2 separate regions of the Homo sapiens genome follow, and region 1 is linked to region 2. Evidence: promoter capture Hi-C in human tissues and cell types (Jung and others, 2019). All regions are on one chromosome and are shown on one strand. Each heading gives the region's core, a stretch centred on a gene start or on the middle of the fragment in contact. The rest is flanking DNA. Distances are from core to core; before and after follow the strand shown.

Evidence for each region. Contacts are between HindIII fragments. The study calls those that stand out against the background at their distance.
Region 1: a fragment that was not itself captured here is called in contact with the fragment with the promoter of SETD9 in region 2 in 1 of the 25 tissues and cell types used here (lymphoblastoid cells).

The regions. Positions count from the first base shown.
Region 1 is chr5:56,311,043-56,315,748 of GRCh38, reverse strand. All of the region lies in intron 2 of LOC105378977 (a long non-coding RNA gene), which reads right to left. Among named protein-coding and RNA genes, the nearest start is that of ANKRD55, 80 kb to the right of the region's middle. RefSeq lists a silencer at 937-1,076. The HindIII fragment of the contact is 3,928 bases long and covers 1-3,381 here.
Region 2 is chr5:56,906,455-56,910,845 of GRCh38, reverse strand. It overlaps SETD9 (SET domain containing 9), which reads right to left and starts at 1,250. Exons shown (of 6, transcript NM_153706.4): 1 at 1,103-1,250. The coding sequence starts at 1,200. RefSeq lists enhancers at 1-589, 685-734, 1,525-1,614 and silencers at 775-984, 1,165-1,374. The HindIII fragment of the contact is 10,546 bases long and covers 1-4,391 here.

The sequences.
Region 1 (4,706 bases), core at 168-2,667, 600 kb after region 2:
GAGACTTTTTGTGAATAAATGTCTAGGTATTGTCAGAATATTTTCTAAAACCTCTTTTCATTGTAATATGACTCCTGGTAGCCAGGTTGTGAAGGAAGGAATATACTGACTCCCCCAACACTTCCTCACTTCCGATGGTTGGAGCCTATTAATATTTACCAGGAAATTTTTATATTTGCCAAAACGATTGGCTTGGGTAGAATGCCATGCCATGCAAATTTCAAATTCATGTTTTCATATAGAGAATTAAGCTAAAGATGGTTAGCTTAAGGTTGTGGGGTTTTTCTTTGAATTTTGGGACTCCGATTGCATTCTGTAAATGTCCCTTAATGAAGGAACTATTTGGTGGGCCTTATACTTGTCCCTGAACACCCTTTAACTGTGACTTGTAGGATAATTTCTGAACCCATTTAAATTCTGGAAACCTGAGAGTTGCCTGTCTAAGCAGTAGCTGTGCTCCTTCTGTGGCATCTTCTTGTAAAATATTGGATTCTAAACTGGTTGCAGTGGAAACCCAGGGCCACTGAGGGAAGAGTGGAAGCCAGATAGAGTGTCCCCTCCTTCTGTGCTGGCTGGGACAGGCAATCTCAGCCCAGGGGTCGGGGAGAGGAACCGGGATTCATACCCGCAGGATTTTGTTTGAGATTTCATGCCTATCAAGTTCATCCTCAAAGAACCCAATGTCATTCTGATTTATTATTATTATTTGAATGAGAGTCAACCACCGACTAATTGTGTCTGGGATATGTCAGCCCCAAGCCTGCCTTAGGGCAAAAGGTTGGACAAGATAATTAGGACTGTGAGGAGGAATTGAGAGACTTCCTGTGGAAGTATCAGAGTAGAAGAAGCCAACACAAAAATCTGGCATCAGTAATGGTCTTTCTTTTATTCTCCTCTCAGGACGGTTTGGAACTTTGGGATCCTTGAAGGACCCCGTGGCCTAGCAGATGAGCACCCTGCCTGCGGCTGCAGGGCAATGTCACAGAGAACCCCTAGGGGGAAGCACTCAGGCACAAGTCTCAGTGAGATTCTCAGCGGCAGGGCTGTGCATGCATCCGGGGACACCATCTCCTGTTTCTCACATAAAGATTACGGCACAGGCAAAGATAAGGAACATTTTCCTAACAGTAAGAAGGCTTTGAATCCAAGAAAGCAACAAACCAGAGCAGACTCATTTGAAACATGAACAGAGTGATGTGGCCAAAGGAATCCAAGCCAGGTTTCACCAGGTTCCTATTGTGAACACACTGGATGTTTATATGAGAATCCCAGTGTATAGCAATCATAACTAGATAATAATTATGCTTAAGATTTGGTCCTCTTTCCATATATGGATTCAGTCCTTTTCTGTCATTTTGTCATTTTCATGGAATCTGGAGTTACGGAACCATCCAATGTTTATTACAGAGAATGACCACCCATAAGCCTCTCCATGCTTATGGAAGCAACAGTTCTGGGGCCGCTGGCTGCATATTCCTTCCAGGTGTTTATTTCTGGGTCTACATCATGTCCCTCACTCATCAATTTAACTCTATCCAGAGAATTCCTCTATGGTCTTCATCAGATTAGGAAGTAAATCATCAGTCACTTCAAATATTTCAAGCTTGGTTTTCTTTGACATAAATCAGTTCTCCTGACTACAATTCCTGGAAAATATTGTAGAGCCCAGCAGCATTGCAGTATTTCAACCTTCATTTGAGTTGCCTGTGACCCAGATGTGAGCTAGTGCTTCCACAGTCTCAGATGTCTGGGTGAATCCACCAATTCTACACCTGTGAACATCCCTGCCTTTGATTCTTTCTAATTGTCAGGAAACTTGCACTCATAATCCCTCCTGCCTCTGGCTCCTGGGTCCATATGTACTGGCTCTGTATCAGCCTCTCTCAACCCAGGTGTAATACTCAGCCCTTTGTCATTTTATACAAAACAATTCACACTTTAAGCATTTCTTGAGTAATACTTTGTACAAGTAATACCTTGGGATGCAGAGTGAGAGTATGTGGGTGGGTCATGTTACATAGTTCCAGGCTTCCCAAGGTCCTCTACCTCTAGGCTCTCTGTCCTGTCCTCTCTTCCTTCCTTATTTTCCCTGGGAGCTCCATGACCTTCTCCCTCTATCAGACAAATTAGCCCAGTTCCCCTTAGCTCCTACCGCTAAGTGTCCATCAAGGCCCTCAGCGAAACAAAGTGTGTTCTGTTTAACAAAATCTATGTTCCTTAGAACATAGCTAGAATATAAATAACAACAAAAGTTCAGGTGCATATATATATTAGTTGATGAAATCAAGTATAAATCTCTGCCTCCATTGAAAGATAGCACAATGTTTTAGAGAAGGAACTGAATTAGGAATCAGTCTATTCGAATTTGAGGCCCAGCAGCACCCTTCACTAGACAGGTGAAAAAGCCAGCAATTCATTTTCGGTCTCAGTTCATCATCTGAAGAGTGAAAATGTTACAAATATTTTGAATCATTATGCTGATTAAAGGAAATAACTTATTCACATGCACTCTGAAACATTAGAGCAGCGTTTCTCAGGACTTTTTTAGTTTTACCATGACTGAGAGTGCTGCTGGCACTTTGGAGGAGGTGCTGGGGATGCGAGGTGGCTGCCAATGTGGAAAAATTGTATATAACACAGTACTGCCTAATTATCAATAACATACCCATTGAGAAATGCTACATCTGAACACAGTATAAATGAAAGGTACGTTACTTCTGACCTTCCATCTTTTACACAAAATGCTGATGAATTTCTTCATGGTGTAGATAATTCTTTTAAACAATTTTCCTCATTCTGGATTATTTTAGCCCAATCTTTGTTCCAAGGTGATAGTTTCTCTGCCTTCCAATGATGCTGCCAACATTTTAATTGCAATCTTGAGCTTCCTTCTATACAGAGTGCTTCCATTTAGGGTATCTTTGTTTGATCTCTCAGTTGAAACTACATTTTACCCTCCAGAAAACAAAAAGAAGAAAGACAAATTATGGGTAAAGGCTGAGAGAATTTTCCACGTGGTGAAGGCAAGCAGTATGAGGAAGCAGGTGAGCTAAGTACCCACGGGGCAGCTATTCGGGCCAGTAGTTGTTTTCCCAAGGCCAGCGTCACCTGGTGTAAACAGCTGGTGGGCTTTTAATCAGGCTTCAAATCTCTTTCCCACCTCTCCTCTTCTGATTGCAATAAGCAATGTAGCCCTAACTAGGGCCCAGACTTCCAGACTGCAGACTTCCAGGAGCAACACAGTTCTATCCCCATTCTGTGACTTGCCATCTGCCCATGAAGCCTTGAGAGGGTCCATCATCTGCAGGCCTGACTCCTGATTTGCTCTCTTGGCTGTGGTGAAGCACTGTGGTCACCCACATACACTCTCCCTTTATCCTCAGGCAAGGACTCAGGGCTGCTACTCCTACCACAGAGGTAGATGGACCCCATGAGGTGGGTTTGGGGGAGGATTAGCATGTACTTTCTTTGGGCCAAGAGCCAAATGAGCATTTACACTCATCTTACCAACACTACATCCTTAGGGTTTAGAGAGCTGTTTTGAAATGCTTGATACAGTGAGGGTGCTCAGAGATATTTCATCACTTATATAAGAGGGGGGACCCCTGCCTCTATAGGCTTATGGAGGAATGTGATTCAGATGAGAGTAGGAGGGCCTAACTGGCTGGGAAGGTATGGAATCTGTAAGCCAGTTATACTCCTATTTCCAGTCAACAGGCTGAACCCATAAGTTTTTGTTTTTAGATGATATCTCTGATTATTTTGACAATGTCACTTCTCTGAAACTTTCAATGACTCTCTCTGCTGATAGAAAAATTCCAATTTCCTTAGCCTTTCATTGAATCTATCCATAATTTGGGTCCAACCTACTTTTCTAGTCTTCTATTTTGTAACTCCCCTCGCAAATCTTACACCCCAGCAGTTTTGAATTAAAACAAAACAAAACAAACTTTTTCTTCCCTGAAAACAGGTCCTCCAGCTGGTCCTACTATTAGTTAATGAGCAAAATGACCCTGGCAAATCATTAACGTCTCAAAATCCCAGCAGCCTAGCTTTTAAAATCCAGTGGCAAGACCTTGGCTGATGAATTTTTCACAAGTTGCCCAGGTGAATCTAACACATCAAACATCTGGACCTAAAGCCCTCTTCAACTATGATTTTCCCACACATTCCCCAAGCACTGCAATTCTCTGTCTCCACGTGCTTATCAAAGTATCTTTTCCTGGAATGCTTCACTTTCTCTCTGCTTAACCCTGTAAACTCAGGTGCATACACACATGCACACCTGTGCACATACACACACGCCAAGGCCCTTCAAGATCAGCTCCAACACTGCCCTCTCCAGAAGGTCTTGCCTAAGGTTGGAGCTCACCTTTCAATGCCCTCTTTCTTCAAACAGCTTTAAATAGCATTTATCACGATTATTCCTTGGTGGGTCTTAGCTCACCACCGGTAGACTGAAACTTGTTGAGAGTATTCCTTCTTGCTCACCTTTCATTTTCCACATTAATCGTGAAAGTAGCTTGTGAGAGTTGGTTGAATTGAGTTAAATTAACCTGACATGAATTAATTGAGAGACATCTTGCTGAAGGTGACAAGTTGGAGGCTCTTGGGAGGATTATAGATAAGGGTGGAGGGCTTGTGTCTCCTGACCTATGTCTCTGCCTATCGTGGAACTCTTACCAGGCACATCCCCTATCTGTCTC
Region 2 (4,391 bases), core at 1-2,500:
AGCCAGAGGCAGAAACGAAGTTCAGCTCTTTCCCGTACTACACCCAACAGCCAAGCTGAATGTCATCACAATGAGAATGAATGACCTCACATTCAATGGCTTTTTAAAAATGGCCTTGTAGTTTCAAAGACAAATTCAACATCGTATACTTTGTGACACTCCCTCCAGGACGACTAACGTCTTCAATGACTGCACCTCTTATTTCCATAATCATTATCTTTTTGTACTAACTGCATTATTTTTACTTGAACAAAAAGGTTGTAATTCCCGCCTCACGGTTCCGAGTCATGATACAACTGATCTCCTGTTTCCCTAGCATGCAACCTTCCGGAAACCGCTTTGTTTCCCTATTTGTCGGACACTGACTTCAGGGAGGCCCGGTCGGCCTCTTTGGTGAGCACGGTGTTGAGCTGATCACTGGTGCGCCCTTAATAACGCCGGCGGGACTCACCCCAATCCGAAACCCACCATCCCGACGTGCTTTTGAGTGGCGTTCTGCCCGTTCTTAACGCGCGAGCTACTGCACGCTATTCTCACAGCCGGGATGGGCTTCTTTAACCACGTGAAGTACTTGTATGAACTATGAAAATAAACCCTGGCTTGGCTTTTCTGAGGAAGTTCAAGCACCTAATTAACCCCTGGTGGAGAAAAAGCCACGCACTCTCACGCGGTAAGGGCAGTCTTTTTAAAAAGTTTCCATTTTTGCCCAGATACAAGCTCCCCAGTCAGTGCCGAACGCAACAGGGAAGAACAGGCGACACATCCGGCTGGCGAGCTCGGCCTCGCGGGCCCGGCAGCGCAGCGGACACTGGGAAAGAGGCCATAGGCCCCGCCCACCTGAAGCCACCGCCCACTTCAGGCTTCCAGCGGGCCTCGGACTCCACCAACCTCGGCCCCGCCCGCCTCTGGCCCGCGTTCCTTAAACCCCTCCGAGGCCTCAGTCCCCGCCCACCCGGCCCGCCCACCTCAGTCCCTGCCCACCCGGGCCCGCCCATCTCAGGCCGGCAGTCAGCCTCAGGCTCTCCGCTTTGCGTCCCGCCGCCGTGGTGGCGTCTGGGAACCGAAGGCAGGTGCCCCTCGTTCTGCCGTCCCGCCCTCTCACCTCGGGTTGTGGCTTAGGTTCAGTGCGATCCAGGGAACGAAGCGGTACTTGTAACGGCGCCATCGCTGCCACAGGCCCCGCAGCAGACGGCCAGGCATGGCTGCCCCGCGGGGCCGTGACCAGGACGGCGCGGGGAAGGCGGATCGAGGCCTCGGGCCCGCCCCGGCCCGGGAGGAGAGGGGGCCGCGCTCGGCCGCCTTCCCCTGGCTCCGCTCTCAGTGTTCCTGGCACCGCCTGACTTCTGTTGCTCTGGGGCTTCGTCCTTCCCCTTTCCTGACCTCACCTCTCTGAATGAGAGGCGCGTAGAGCTGGAAGGAGGTCCCCTTGACCACTTTTTCTTTCTCCGGTCGCTCGGGTGCTTCCGTGGGCGCACACAAGCGCTAGCCCTGGTTGCGGGCGAAGGGTCACCGGGCCTCAGGGGCGAACCCGCCCCCGAGACCGCGTCCCAGGAGCGGACCGCCTAGTTTCTCTGTCACGGCTGTCTGGCCTGCCCCTTTGTCCCGGCCGCGCTCTGTGTTCCATCCTCCGTCCACTTGAGCTCTGCCTCTTCCTCGACGTTCTCTCCCCTTCTCTCCGTGGCCCCAGAGCAGCCCGACTTCGGGAACCCGAGTTTCAGTCCTCCCCAGACAGCAGCCCTTCTTCTGCGTGAACCCGTGTTCCCAAAGTTACCAGTTTGGGCGTTTTGCGAATATTTACACGTAAAAAAACAAAGTGTCATGATTCCCTGTTTTCACTCGTTTTTCTCTTCATTGACCCAACCATTCAAAGGCAAAACTACATGGACAAATGTTTCTGAAAAACAGCTTTGTTGAGGAATGGTTGGGATACAATAAACTGCACATATTTAAAGTGAACAATTTGATAGGTTTTCGACACCACAGCCAAGATAGTAATCCAGCCCCTCCCCCAGTCCCCAAGCAACCACTGAGGTGCTTTTGTCCTTTTAATATGGTCTTCGCTTCAATTTGGAAACGTTTTGTCTAGAAGTTCTGCATCTGTGTTCGTGAGAGATATTGTTTCGTAGTTTTCTTGTAGTGTCTTAATCTGGCTTTGGTATTTAGGCTAATGTTGACTTCATAGGATGAGGTGGGAAGTAGTCCCCCATAGGTGAAATTTAAAAGGAACTTTACGACCGCTCCTCCCCAACACCCAGATGCATGCACACGCACACACATATTTAGAACAGGTTTGGACAAAGTTCAGTTTTAAGGGGGGCAAACTACAGGAATCCCTTAACCATATTCAAATCACCAAGTGTTTATTGACAGATAAATACGTTGGTATCATTTCCTCTATTCTTTGCCTGAGAGTGAGGTTGGATCCTAAACTATTGAAATTGAACGGCTCAGATCTAATAAAAACTCAGCCAAGGCCGGGCGCAGTGGCTCACGCCTGTAATCCCAGCACTTTGGGAGGCCGAGGCGGGTGGATCCCCTGAGGTCAGGAGTTCGGGACCAATCTGGCCAACATGGCGAAACCCCGTCTTTACTAAAAAAGAACAAATACAAAAATTAGCCGAGCGTTGGTGGCACGTGCCTGTAGTCCCAGCTACTCAGGAGGCTGAGGCAGAAGAATCGCTTGAACCTGAGAGACGGAGGTTGCAGGGAGCCGAGATCCGCCACTGCACTCCAGCCTGGGTGACAGAGTGAGATCCCGTCTCAAAAAAAAAAAAAATTCAGCCAATCGCCAGTAGCTGCGGGACTAATTTGTTCTATTCTGAAAGAAATAAAGAGAAAGAGTATCTACCAATGTCTCTATTTCGTTCATATCATATAGAATGTTAGCAAACTCTAGAGGCTTTCTCTCAGACTCTGTGTTTGTTTGATAATTTGGCATAATCTAGATTTACCTGACTTGCTAAATGGAGTCAATTCAGTTCCAGGATGTATTAATAAGTGGCATACAAGAAAGTTTCTTTATAGTCTCCAAACTTAACAAAGAACCCAAAAGAACTAGTTTAATCTTTACCTATGGTAATGTACTTGTCTAAAAAAAGAAAAAAATCAGTTTTTGTATATTTTTACAGTTTTTTTATATTTATGGTATTAAAATTAAATTTTGGTTAGCTAAGTAATTAATGAAAACCTTCTTTTTCTAGTTTCTTAAAGTAGGTTATTAGGTCACTAATTTTAATCTTTTCTTCTTTTCTAATGGAAGCATCTAAAGTTATACAAATAGAAACATGGTAGCTAAAGCTCAAGTCACCCTTAACCAAACACCGTACCTTGTACTTCCACCAATCCTGGTACTTGGCGCTTCTCAGAAGTTATCAGACGGGTGTGTTTTCTGCCAGTTTTATTTTTATGTATTTACATACCCGCGTATGTTTTTATAGAAAATACATAGTATTTTGTGTGAGTATTGTTAAAATATTATAAGGATCCACAACTTATTTGATTTCCTCAAAAATACATCTTGAAGATCTACCCATATTGGTTTAAGTCTACTGCATTCTTCTATTTTTGAGGTTTTGCCTTCAAGTTTAATATTTACTGTAGTTTTCTAGTAGGTATGTATACTTTATGAAGTTTTTTAAAGTTCTATTTTTGACTTTCCAAAAATTTTTATTGTTTTAAATTTTAAATGAATGATAAATATCAAATGCTTTTCTCTGCTTATTGAGATGACCATATAGTTTCTATTCATTTATTCATGTAGTGAATGATGACACATTGTCAAATGTTGACCGTCCTTGGATTTCTGACATAACTACTCAGTTATGAGTACCTCTTTGGTCAGATCCTGTAGGTTTTAATATATGCTATTGTCATCCCACATTTATTTTGAAGTATGTTTTAAAATTTTTTAGATAGAATTTGCCTGTGAAAACATCTGGGCTTGTAATTTTCTTTGATAATAAATTCAACTTATTTTAAAGATATAGGGCTATTCATAATGTCCGTTTCATCTTGTGTTGTTTGGTAAGTTATATTTTTATGGAATTTGTTCATTTTGTCTAAGTTGCCAAATATCTTGGTATAAAGTTGTTTATAAATACTGTCTTACTAACCTTTTAATGTCTGTATGATCTGTTGTAATAGCCCATTTTTGTTCCTGATTTTGGTGATTTGTGTTCTCTTCTTCATCATTGTAATTGAGGGTTTGTCAATCTTTTCAAAGAAACAGCTTTTGGCTTTATTACTTTTCCCTGCTTATTTTTTATTTTGTTGACCTCTGTTCTTATCTTTTTTCTCTCTTTTTTTATTTTTAGTGATGGGGTCTCACTGTGTTGCCTGAACTGGTCCCCAAGTGACCCAACTGCCTATGCCTTCCAAATAATTGGAATTAC